Linked DNA regions of Homo sapiens: regions 1 and 2 are each linked to region 3. The links are contacts of gene promoters, found by promoter capture Hi-C in blood cells and fetal thymus (Javierre and others, 2016). All regions are on one chromosome and are shown on one strand. The core of a region is centred on a gene start or on the middle of the fragment in contact, and the rest is flanking DNA. Distances in the headings are between cores, read along the strand shown. Region 1 holds the start of RMDN2 (regulator of microtubule dynamics 2). Region 2 overlaps RMDN2 (regulator of microtubule dynamics 2). Region 3 holds the start of CEBPZOS (CEBPZ opposite strand).

Region 1 (3,695 bases), core at 860-3,359, 730 kb before region 3:
GATAATTTGAAAAATGACACATTAAAAATAATGTACAAAATACATCAGAGTACTTGCTTGCCTTCAGAATAATTTCAAAGGTTGTATGAAGTCATTTACATAGCTTTTTTTTTTTAGAGTCTCGCTCTGTCACCTAGGCTGGAGTGCAGTGGTACAATCACTGCTCACTGTAGCCTCGACCACTTGGGCTCAAGTCATCCTCCTGCCTCAGCCTCCCTAGTAGCTAGGACCACAAGCGTGGGCAACCACGCCCGGCTAATTTTTACATTACTTGTAGAGAGTGAGTCTCCCTATGTTGCTAGGCTGGTCCCGAACTCCTGGGCCCAAGCAATCCTGCCTCCACCTCTCAAAGTGCTGGGATAAGCAGCATGGGCCACTGCCTCCAGCCTTGTTAGCTTTCATACTTCTAATTATGTTAATAGTATACACTTGTAGTATAAAAAAATATAGTAATTAAAAACTTTACCAAACAGATTTTAAAACTCTAATATTTTAATAATCAGATACAAAGTATTATGTTACGTTTCAATTTGTAAGGTGCTAGTAAATAACAATGGAAAATGACATTTTAATATAGATTATGGCACTTAATTAATGTGTATTATTGTGTAATATTAAAGGTTGAGATGAGAATCAAGTATTCTAAAATGACATCAAAATGTTGACTCTAAAGAAAATAGAATATGAAATGTTTTCTGAAGAAATGTCTGAAGAAACATTTCATTTCCATGTTCTAGTTTTATTTAAAATTAATTTTTTGATGTAGAAATTATGCTTTACTAAATTAATTATAATGCTTTCACCATAAATCTAGCACAGATATTCATTAACTTCATCAGCAGACCCTTAGAGGAGAAAAATATAAAATGCATAACTCTAATAAACTCGGGGAAGGTATGACAAATTTTGCAAGGATAAAGAGACATTACAAAAAAGCCCGAGGTTTAAGTTTCCTAAGAGAATTGCACTGAGACCTTGAACTAGTGATCAGATTTCCTACAGCGTCCTGGAAAACCTGGTACTTTCGAAGTGAATTCTATTGTTCATTTCATCAGGTTTTCATGGTTTTTTTGTATTTTATAATTTATTTTAAATTTAGGGCTCCCAAGTGTTTGCCTCATTCCCCTATGTTGGCAGCACTGATAATCCGGCCTTCGTTTTTGTGTGAAATAGGCACAGACGGAGTCTGAGAGCAAAAAAAACCCCACACAAACAAAAACAAAATGTTTGCGCAAGGCTGAAAGCCGAGCGAGAGCCCAGCAAGTGTCTCTGTTGAAATTCTTTGGGGTTTGCAGGGACCAGCCGGGCCGAGGCAGCAAACTGCCTGTTCCCCACGCACCCCAGAAGGGTCCGCGTGCGAGGAAATACCAGCGACCTCCGGGGCTAGGGCTTCCGTGGCGCAGGGTCAGCGAGGGATGAACCCGGGAAGCCACTATGGGCCGCTGCTCCAGCCCCGGGAACGCAGAGCACCGCTGGCTAGCAGGCTCAAGCTTCGCCAGGGACACACCGACCCGGAAGTGCAGTCGCCCCCACCGCAAGTATTTCCGCTTCCCTCCGCAAGTCCCCGGCGCGGTCCGGCCCCCAGCGGCTGAGCAGCCCCCTCCCAGACTGCGCACGCACCTGTGTTCACTGCGCCGGCCTTTCAGCTGTTGGAGAGCGGAGACCAGGACCTGCTGGCGCGCAGTGGCGGACGGACAGTAGCCCTGGAGCCCGCGGGTCCTAAGGTCCCGCGCCGCGGCCGTCGCGTCCTGACCCAGATAGCGGAGGCGCCGGGGGAGGAGCCCGCGGCCGCTCGGCCCCCCGCTCCCGCCCCCTCTCCCTCTCGTGGTGGGTTCAACTCTACCGGGACTGGCGTTGGGTGCACCTTTTGCAAAATAAAATTGCACGTCGCGGGGCGCCTGGCTCGCGCCGGACCGTGTGTCTCGGCCGTCGCCTCCCTTCGAAGCCGGTCGGCACCTTTTCCCCCGCCTGGGCTCTGGGCCTCCGCGCTAGCCCCAGCGCGTTCCCTCTCGCGTTGCTGCCACTCCGCACGCCCACCGCCAGCTCGCTTCGTTCCGGCTCTCAAACCCACTCCCTCTCCCCTAGTTAAACCTTTTTCTGTGCCCTTTCTAGGCACAACCTTGCACTTTACTCCTCACGACTGAATTAAAGGCAGACGCCTTGCACTAATTACTGATATCTGCAGCCCCGTGTTCATAGCTTTATCTCACGTTTTCTTTTAATGAGCAATTTTGACAGCCTCTTCCTTCTCCCCGCCATTCCGAGTTGCCTTTAGATGAAAGCCGCTGTTTTTTCAGATGCCTGACATTTAAGGTTTTACCCAGCTTTCTGTGGTTTGTATAATGAAACTAATTCTGCTAAATACGCTCTTAAAAACTGGGCCGGGCGCGGTGGGTCACGCCTGTAATCCCAGCACTTTGGGAGGCTGAGGCAGGCGGATCACCTGAGGTCAGGAATTCGAGACCAGTATGGCCAACGTGGCGAAACCCCTGTCTCTACTAAAAATACAAAAAATTAGCCGGGCGTGGTGGTGGACGCCTGTAATCCCAGCTACTTGGGAGGATGAGGCAGGAGAATCGTTTGAACCCGGAGGCAGAGGTTGCAGTGAGGCGAGATCGCGCCACCGCACTCCAGCCTGGGTGATAGAGCGTCTCAAAAACAAAAACAAAACAGTACATACACTGCTTCTGTATTGTCCGCACCTTGAGTATTACTGCCTCAAGCTTAGGTTTGCATAACATTAATCTCTAAACTTCCCACCAATATATTGAGCAGAATTAAAAATGGGTACACTCTTTCTCAAAACAGCAACAGCAGACAACACCCATAAAGCCATGAAGAATCCAGAAGGCTTGTTTTGCAATCCATATACTACTGTTTACGGATAGGGATTCAGGGATTCTATAGGCTCTTTAAGATGATTTTTTGAGCTTCAGGCAAGCCGCATTGAAGAATAAGTAAGCCTGGCCATGGTCATTTTATTAAAAGTAATTTGTAGCAGGGCGCAGTGGCTCACGACTGTAAGCCCAGCACTTTGAGAGGCTGAGGCGGACGGATCACTTGAGGCCAGGAGTTCGTGACCAGCCTGGCCAATATGATGAAACACCATCTCTACTAAAAATACAAAAATTAGCCGAGTGTGGTGGCGCACTTCTGTAGTCCCAGCTGCTCGGGAGGTTAAGGCATGAGAATTGCTTAAACCTCAGAGGCAGAAGTTGCAGTGAGCCGAGATCGGGCCACTGCTCACCAGTCTGGGACAGAATGAGACTCTGTCTCAAAAAACAAGAGCAAAAACCTAAGTTGTATTTGGAAAAAGAGCAGATTAATCTTTAACCTCTCAGATTTGGAACTAGTAAAATATTACCTTCTACAAACCCACTTCACTCCTATTTATTATGGTTTGCAGCAATCTTGCAATATAATGCTAGCTTTATTTAACTAGAATACAATATGATATAAACCGATCATGCAAAACAATTTTCTCTTTTAACAAGATTTAGATACCAAAGAAACATGACTGTCTCTTCGCTAATACTTAAAAGGAGCTTTTCAGTATTTAAAACAAAATTTAAGCTTTTCCAGGAGCCCACTGAGTTGTTCACTGCTGCATCCCCAGCACATTGCACAGAAGAGGCTTTCAATAAAAATGTGACGTATGGGCTGTGAACAAGGCCTTACCAGTCTATTCCAAGAGG
Region 2 (3,796 bases), core at 3-2,502, 750 kb before region 3:
ATATCTGGACAGTCCAGGATATCCAGTTATTATGGGAAACAAAGGAGAGCACTAAAGCTTCGTTTATGAATATTTTCAATGTTCTTTTAGCACATGTTGAAGTTTTTTTCTAAGGCTTACCTTAAGCACTTTCCCATTGTAAATTTAATCCAAAGTAAGTCTCTCCCTTCCCTTCTAGGCCGTCATCCTTAAGCCATAAAATGCCCTGTAGAGGTGGAACAGGTCAGAAGACTGAATGCTCAAGCTGCATGTGGAGTTAACATGGCAATAACACAGAATGTGATGACAGCAGACTCTAGAATCTCATGACATCAGTTTATATTAGAACTGTTCTGTAGCTCACCTTTCTCCGAAGTTGGAATTCACATGGCTGTGGAATGTGTTTCTACCTTCACTGTTGGAGGAGTCATCCAACAAATCCAGGGGTGGGAAAACAGCTGGATAAGGACAATAACATATATGACAGCTGTACAATCCTTTACCTTGGACCATCTCTCTCACCTTGGACCATCTCTCTCACCAGCTGCCTTCCACACCCCTGTACTACTAACTCCTTCTTCTTTCACTTGAACATTCTTTACCCCAGATTTTTGCATCCTTCAGTGATACGGAAAAGCAAATGTTAGAGACTTTGGCCTAAAGATACATTGAGAAGGGAAAAAAAGTTTAATAAGTAGCAAATGTCATTGCCACCACAAAGGAAACAAGCATCGTTCACCTTGGCAGTAAAGTATGCCATCTGACTGCTTGGGCCATTTGCACAGATTACGGGGATATGCTGTGGCACTATTTATCACTCCTCAGAACAACTGATACTCACCTAAATGCAAGGTTAATAGAGTTATTAGAAAAGAAACACTGTCCTTTCTTATCTAAACCAATTTGGGCTATTGTCCCCATAACAGGTATACGTGTATGTGTATACTTACCTATGACATGAAACACCCCCTCAAATACTTTTATTTACTGTGCAATTTCCTGATCCTAAATACTACTACCGCCTCTAGCCTTTGCTCCCTTCCTAACACCCTACTGCAGGAAACCCTTGAACAAATTCCTTTTAAGAGACCCAAAGCTCTCTAACGTTCACCATACAATGGTCGGATTTGTAATTTGATTTTAGTTTACATACAAACTAATAAAGTAATCTCTTACTGTATCATGGATGCTGGCAGAAGACATGAGATTCGTGGGTTAGAGACAGAAGACTTATGTTACTTACAGCATAGCAAAGCAGCATAATCACCAGGACATTTACATCAGTTCTCCTTTGTCCCACATTGCCACAGGGGCAATGCAGAGGGCCCAAGGACACTTGCCTTCACAGTGGATTGTGTTACAGGAAAGAACGCTGAGCTTAGATGATCTACCACTTCTATAGCAAGTAGTAAGCAAATCTGCTAAACCTGCTCTTGGTCCTGAAGGGAAACAGTAACTCATTCTTCAAGGTTGCTCACCAGAACCCTGAAAAATGGCCCACATAAAGAATGATCAGGGCCTTACATGTATGGCTCATGTAGCAAGATGTCTGGGAGCACAAGAAGCCCAAGGAGGACTGTCTGTCTCTGTAGCAATCTATTACATTTTCCCTCTCTTGTGAGACTACTGTCTTTTGTTCCTAAGCCGCACTAAGGTCTGATTGTCATTTTCCAAAAGGATCTCTTTTGCACATTGCAAGAACATAATACGTAATGCTTATAAAGTTTCTATAAAAAATTTTTCTTTGAAAAATTGGGCCAGCTTGTTGTTTAACACTCCCACCAATGGCCTCTAAAAGAAGCATCTGCTCACTGAGCTACCCCAAAGGAAATAATTATTTGTAACTAAATCTCAACACTGTCAATCACTGCTGCTCAGTCGAGGTAATAAAGAGGTCAGATCACTCCCCCGACCTTATTCAAGCAAATCTATGATTATGCAGACACAAAAAACGGTGTTTAGGTGTGTGCGCATTTGGGGGATGAGGAAGAAGATCCAGATCTGCTCAGACATCAGAAAAGAAATCTCATACCAGTACAGGAAATATCTAGAAGCTGATTAATATCGTTCTAGGTGAAGAACTTACCTAACCCTCTAAATGTCTGCAAATTGCCTCCTTTTGGCTTTTTAAGAGAACCAAAATTAGACTTAGCCCAAAAGCAAATAGTAACCCCTTATAATGACAAGCATCTAAAACATGTTCGTCCTTCAATTCATTCCCAATTCTCTTTATTATCAATTCCATGACCCCAGGTACCTTCTGCTTTTATCATGCCCTATGGCCACCCAACCCTCCTCCTTTTCTGCAACAGCCACTCTATTCTCACCTAGGTCAGTATTCCATCATTATACTCACTGTGCCCAATGAACCTTTTGTTTATCTGTAACCATAATTACCACTCATTACAACAAAAATTTCATCATGATTGCTCATGTGGATGTTAGAAAATCTTCTAGAACAAAGCTTCTCAAATGTTAGGGTGTATAAGAGTCACCCACAGAGCTTCTTAAAATGCAGATTCCTGAGCACTGCTCCCAGACATTCTGATTCGCTAGGTCCGGGGTATGTCCTAAGAACATGCATTTCCCACACTCTCACAGGCAAGACTGGATGCTGATGTTGCTGGTCCACAGACCACAATTTGAGTAGCTGTGTTCCAGAACATACGGGTCATGACGACCCCCAGAGTCAAGGCAGAAGCGTCTTCTGAGGTACCTCACAGCAGCTGCCTATCTAAGCTGGAGTCTAGAAAAGACAGTGAACAATACTAGGACTGAATGTCCCCCTCCTGGTACCTAGATGACAAGTCTCTTCAGAGAATCTACATTACACACGGGGAGAAGTAGGGGGCACAAGGGGAGAACCCTGACTGGGACTGAATCCTTAACACAAAGAACATGCCCCAAACTAAAAATTGACTGAGTTAACTTGAATTGACAAATTTAAGTTTTTCTACATTATTCAAAACAAATATCGTGAAGTACTCTGAATTCAGCTATTGAAAAATGCACATCTTTAGCTGATCTGAGTGTAGTATCATTCTTCAATAATAATACAAACTATTCAATTCATTACATTAATTTAGTTGTTTTTATAGTTTATCAAATGTGCCTGATTGTGGACAGTAACAGCAACATTCATTTTTAAATTAGCACCAGGATAACTGTTGTATTTCCTTTCATTACAACATTAAACTCTCCACATAAGTTCCCTGTTTGTAGTTTGTTACTCAGATGACACAGCTGTCTGCATGTGACTTGCGAGGCAGAAAAAGTATGGCTTTTTTAATGAATTTAGCACAAATGTTGGTTATTTTATACATATTAAATTTCTATTTTATAGAAATTCTACTTTCAGAATTTTCTCATCCATATATTATTTTGAGAGAAAGAAGTTTATTAAAATTAATTCACTGAATAACTCAGAAACAGAAAGTCAAATACTACATATTCTCATTCATAAGTAGGAACTAAATAATGTGTACACATGGACATTGAGCATGCAATAATAGACAGTGGAGACTTCTCAGGAGGGTGGGAGGAGGTGAGGGATGAGAAACTACCTAACAGGTACAATGTACACTATTTGGGTGATAGTTACATTAAAAGCTCATACTTTGCAAAGTAACCATGTAACAGAACTGCATTTTTACCCTCTAAATCTACAAAAATCAAAATTAAAAAAATAATTTCAAAAAATAAAATAAATTCACTAGACAGCAGTTACTAAAGGCATTCTAGTCAAGAATATAGAACAGGACACAGTCCAGGGTTTGAAATGATGCAAAAACAAGCTGGATGTAGTTTTGAAACAATG
Region 3 (3,594 bases), core at 887-3,386:
TATAACCTCAAAGTCCAGAAGAGGAGAACCACTTGTTTTTCAGATTTTTCTATTGTCCTGTGTGTGCTCTTTTGTTCTCAATCCCAGCTCGCTGCTGTCAGGTGTTTACTCCATTCACTTCCGACCCCTTTTCAATGCCTGAGGGTGGGTGTAATCAAATAACCTTCCTTTTGTAGGATTATTCTGCTGATATCTTACCAGGTGGCCCTCCCCACCACCCCCCAAATTCCCTCATTTTAATAATGTGATCACCCTGGGGACCAAAAGATTAAAACTTTATTATTCTTATTTAAAAGAAATGAAGCAAAGAAATTTACAAAGTAATTCATATATAACTAAGAGGCAGTTGAGTGGTGGGAAGGGACAGTTGTTTTGCTCCATTCACTACAATGCTGTACATGACTGACAGAAAGTAAGTCATGCTCAGTACAGATGCCTCTCTTGGGGTTATTTTTTTTTTATTTTATTTTTGGAGACACGGTCTCGCTCTGTCGCCCAGGCTGGAGTGCAGTGGCGCGATCTTGGCTCACTGTAACCTCCGCCTGCCGGATTCAAGCAATTCTCTTGCCTCAGCCTCCCCAGTAGCTGGGAGCTGGGACTCCCGCCACCAGGCCCAGCAAATTTTTTGTATTTTAGTAGAGACGGATTTCACCCTGTTGCCCAGGGTGGTCCCCAACTCCTGAGCTCAGGCAATCCACAGGCCTCGGCCTCCCAAAGTGCTAGGATTACAGGCGTGGGCCACCGCGCCTGGCCTATTTTTATTTTTTTGAGACTGGGTCTTGCTGTCTCCCAGGCAGGAGTGCAGTGGTGCGATCCTGGCTCACTGCAACCTCCGTCTCCCGGGTTCAAGTGATTCTCCTGCCTCAGCCTCCCGAGTAGCTGGGATTATAGGCGTGTGCCACCACGTCTGGCTAATTTTTTGTATGTTTAGTAGAGATGAGGTTTCACCATGTTGGCCAGGCTAACTTCCGACCTCAAGTGATCCTCCCGCCTCGGCCTCCCAAAGTGCTGGTATTACAGGCGTGTGCCGCCACGCCCGGCCTCTTGGGGTTATTTTTAATGTTCAAGGAATGAACAAAGACCGCCTGCAGCCAGTTCCATTATTCAAGGAATCGAAGTAAAATTTTGTTTTAAGAGAGGGTGGTGCTAAGAAATAAAGTCCATCTGTAGGCCAGGGTTAAAAGAAAAGAAAATAAAGTGCGAATAATACTGTACGGCTGCCTTGGTGTATAGTGGTGAGCATAGCTGCCTCCAAATAACACCGTACAACAAAGTATTTACCTTTTTAAAAATACATATACGTTTTGCACTGAGGCTCTCGGCTTCAGGAGGCTGATAAAACTTCAAGTTCCTTTGCTACAGACCACCAGGGATACACCTGTCCACCCACAAAGAAGTGAGGTTTACTAGCTGCGGCAAGGGAGACACGGCAGACCAGCGCCTGCCTTCTCGGCACAGGGAAAGGCATCATTCCGGGAAGTTTAGGTGAAGTTTAACACGAAGCCGCCTCTGACAGATTCGGCGCAGGGCTGTGTGTCATGCAGTTAACATCACACGGGGCTGAGACGCTGACTCGGGGACACAAGCTCAAGCCAAATGTGCAATGCTGGGTCGGAAGCCCCTTATCCCGGGATGCGCTCCAGGGAATCGGGGCGGCCTCCCAGCTTAGCGTCTGCAGGCTACGCGGTTTCAAGCAGCAACGTCTCTCCCAGCCTAGCTGTGCAGAGGACGACTTTTCAACAGAGGCCGAGAGCTGGCCGCCTCCGCTCCCCCGGCTCCCGGCTCCTGCCGCGGTCCCACCCAGCTCCCGCTTCCCCCGGTTCCCTGGTGCCCTCGGCTGCCCTCAGCTCTCCCCTAGCCCGCGGAACGCTAGGCCCGGGCCTGCAGGCGACACGCGCGGGCACGCACGGAGCACGGCCCGGCCGCCAGACCACGGCCGCCTAGCGACCCGGAAACACTCGCCTCCAGTGAATTAAGGCAGTGACACCTGACTATCCTCCACATGCCCCCAGAACTGTGACGAGGCCCCACGCAGAAGACCGCCCCACTCTCGTCGCACTAGGGACCCCGAAATCCGACCGCCCATGGGAAGCCACTCGCCAGAGTCTTACCTGAGGTGCGTTCAAGGGGGACTGCGCATGCGCAACGGTTGGCGACGCTCCACCCCTTCCGTTGTCGGCTCCGCCCCCACATTCGTAATTACTATTAATTGTACTCTGACCGCGACCCGAACCTGACTGCCCTCTATGTACATTATTTTACGGAATGTTCGCAATAACACATGCAACAGGTGCTGAGTGTATCTCATTTTACGGAGAAAGCAAGAGGCTTACACTGCCCACAATCGCAGTTAGTAAAATCAGAATTCACATTTAAACCCAGGAAACTGACTACGTGTAGCCTGTTCTGGGTCGTTTTTCTAACACCCTGAAACTTAAAGTGTGATAGTCTCAGAGGACTACCAACATAAGCATCACCTGAAAACTTGTTAGAAATGAAGAACTAGGCCGGGCGCGGTGGCTCACGCCTATAATCCCAGCACTTTGGGAGGCCTAGATGGGAGGATCACGACATCAGGAGACCGAGACCATCCTGGCTAACACGGTGAGACCCCGTCTCTACTAAAAATACGTTTAAAAAAAAATAGCTGGTCGTAGTGGCATGCGCCTGTAGTCCCAGCTACCGGGGAGGCTGAGGCAGGAGAATCGCTTGAACCCGGGAGGCGGAGGTTGCAGTGAGCTGAGATCGCACCACTGCACTCCAGCCTGGGCGACAGAGTGAGACTTTGTCTCAAAAAAAAAAAAATGCAGAACTACTGAATCTGAAACTGCATTTTAGCCAGATCCCTAAAGAATTCGTTTGCAAAGTAACACTTGAGAAAGCGCGAAGGGGACATGGAAACAGAGAAGAGAAAAAGAATATAAAAGTATATTGAAGTACCGTGTGCAAGACAAAGCCTGGAACACCCAAAACAGGCACAGATCTACCTTCATCGAAGTTCTAGTCTAGTTAGGGGTATTTACCACAAATAACTGATGGAAAGTACACAATGATAAGGGCCTTGCTTCTAATCCGAGGAATCTGTAAAGGTTTTAGAGAAGGGGTGATAGCTGGAGCTAACTCTGTCCACGCCAAGTAAAGGAAGTGCCTCTGCAAGGTGCTCTGTGATTGCCCCAATTTTCCTAACACCCGCCCCACCCCTAGTCCAGCCCATGTGGTTCATCTGTGTAACTAAAGCATCATAAATTGTGAAAAACATATGAATTTAGGGAGAACAAAAACTTTCAGACCATATAGCAAGGCTCCACTACATTGGTTTGAAATACCAGAATATCAGTGTTAAAAGTACCAGGATGACAAAGCAAGATGAAAAAGCTATTGGGGCTTGGTGCGGTGGCTCACACCTGTAATCCCAGCACTTTGGGAGGCCAAGGTGGGCAGATAACCTGAGGTCAGGAGTTCAAGACCAGCCTAGCCAACAAGGAGAAACCCCATCTCTACTAAAAATATGAAAATTAGCTGGGTGAGGTGGAGCATGCCTGTAATCCCAGCTATTCGGAAATCTAAGGCAGGAGAGTTGCTTGAACCCAGGAG

What was found. Contacts are between HindIII fragments. The CHiCAGO score rates a contact against its expected background, and 5 or more counts as called.
Region 1: a fragment that was not itself captured here is called in contact with the fragment with the promoter of CEBPZOS in region 3 in 1 of 17 cell types (non-activated CD4 T cells); the score reaches 5.8 in non-activated CD4 T cells.
Region 2: a fragment that was not itself captured here is called in contact with the fragment with the promoter of CEBPZOS in region 3 in 1 of 17 cell types (monocytes); the score reaches 6.1 in monocytes.

Annotation. Positions count from the first base shown.
Region 1 is chr2:37,923,351-37,927,045 of GRCh38, reverse strand. RMDN2 (regulator of microtubule dynamics 2) reads right to left here and starts at 1,759. Exons shown (of 11, transcript NM_001170791.3): 1 at 1,621-1,759. RefSeq lists a silencer at 1,705-1,944. The HindIII fragment of the contact is 1,233 bases long and covers 1,493-2,725 here.
Region 2 is chr2:37,946,920-37,950,715 of GRCh38, reverse strand. All of the region lies in intron 2 of RMDN2 (regulator of microtubule dynamics 2), which reads right to left. RMDN2-AS1 (RMDN2 antisense RNA 1) reads left to right here. Exons shown (of 4, transcript NR_102712.1): 4 at 179-382. Among named protein-coding and RNA genes, the nearest start is that of RMDN2, 24 kb to the right of the region's middle. The HindIII fragment of the contact is 2,386 bases long and covers 60-2,445 here.
Region 3 is chr2:37,195,038-37,198,631 of GRCh38, reverse strand. CEBPZOS (CEBPZ opposite strand) reads right to left here and starts at 2,136. Exons shown (of 5, transcript NM_001322374.2): 1 at 2,112-2,136. It also overlaps a transcript of SULT6B1 not described here. RefSeq lists a silencer at 2,163-2,302. The HindIII fragment of the contact is 5,744 bases long and covers 1-3,594 here.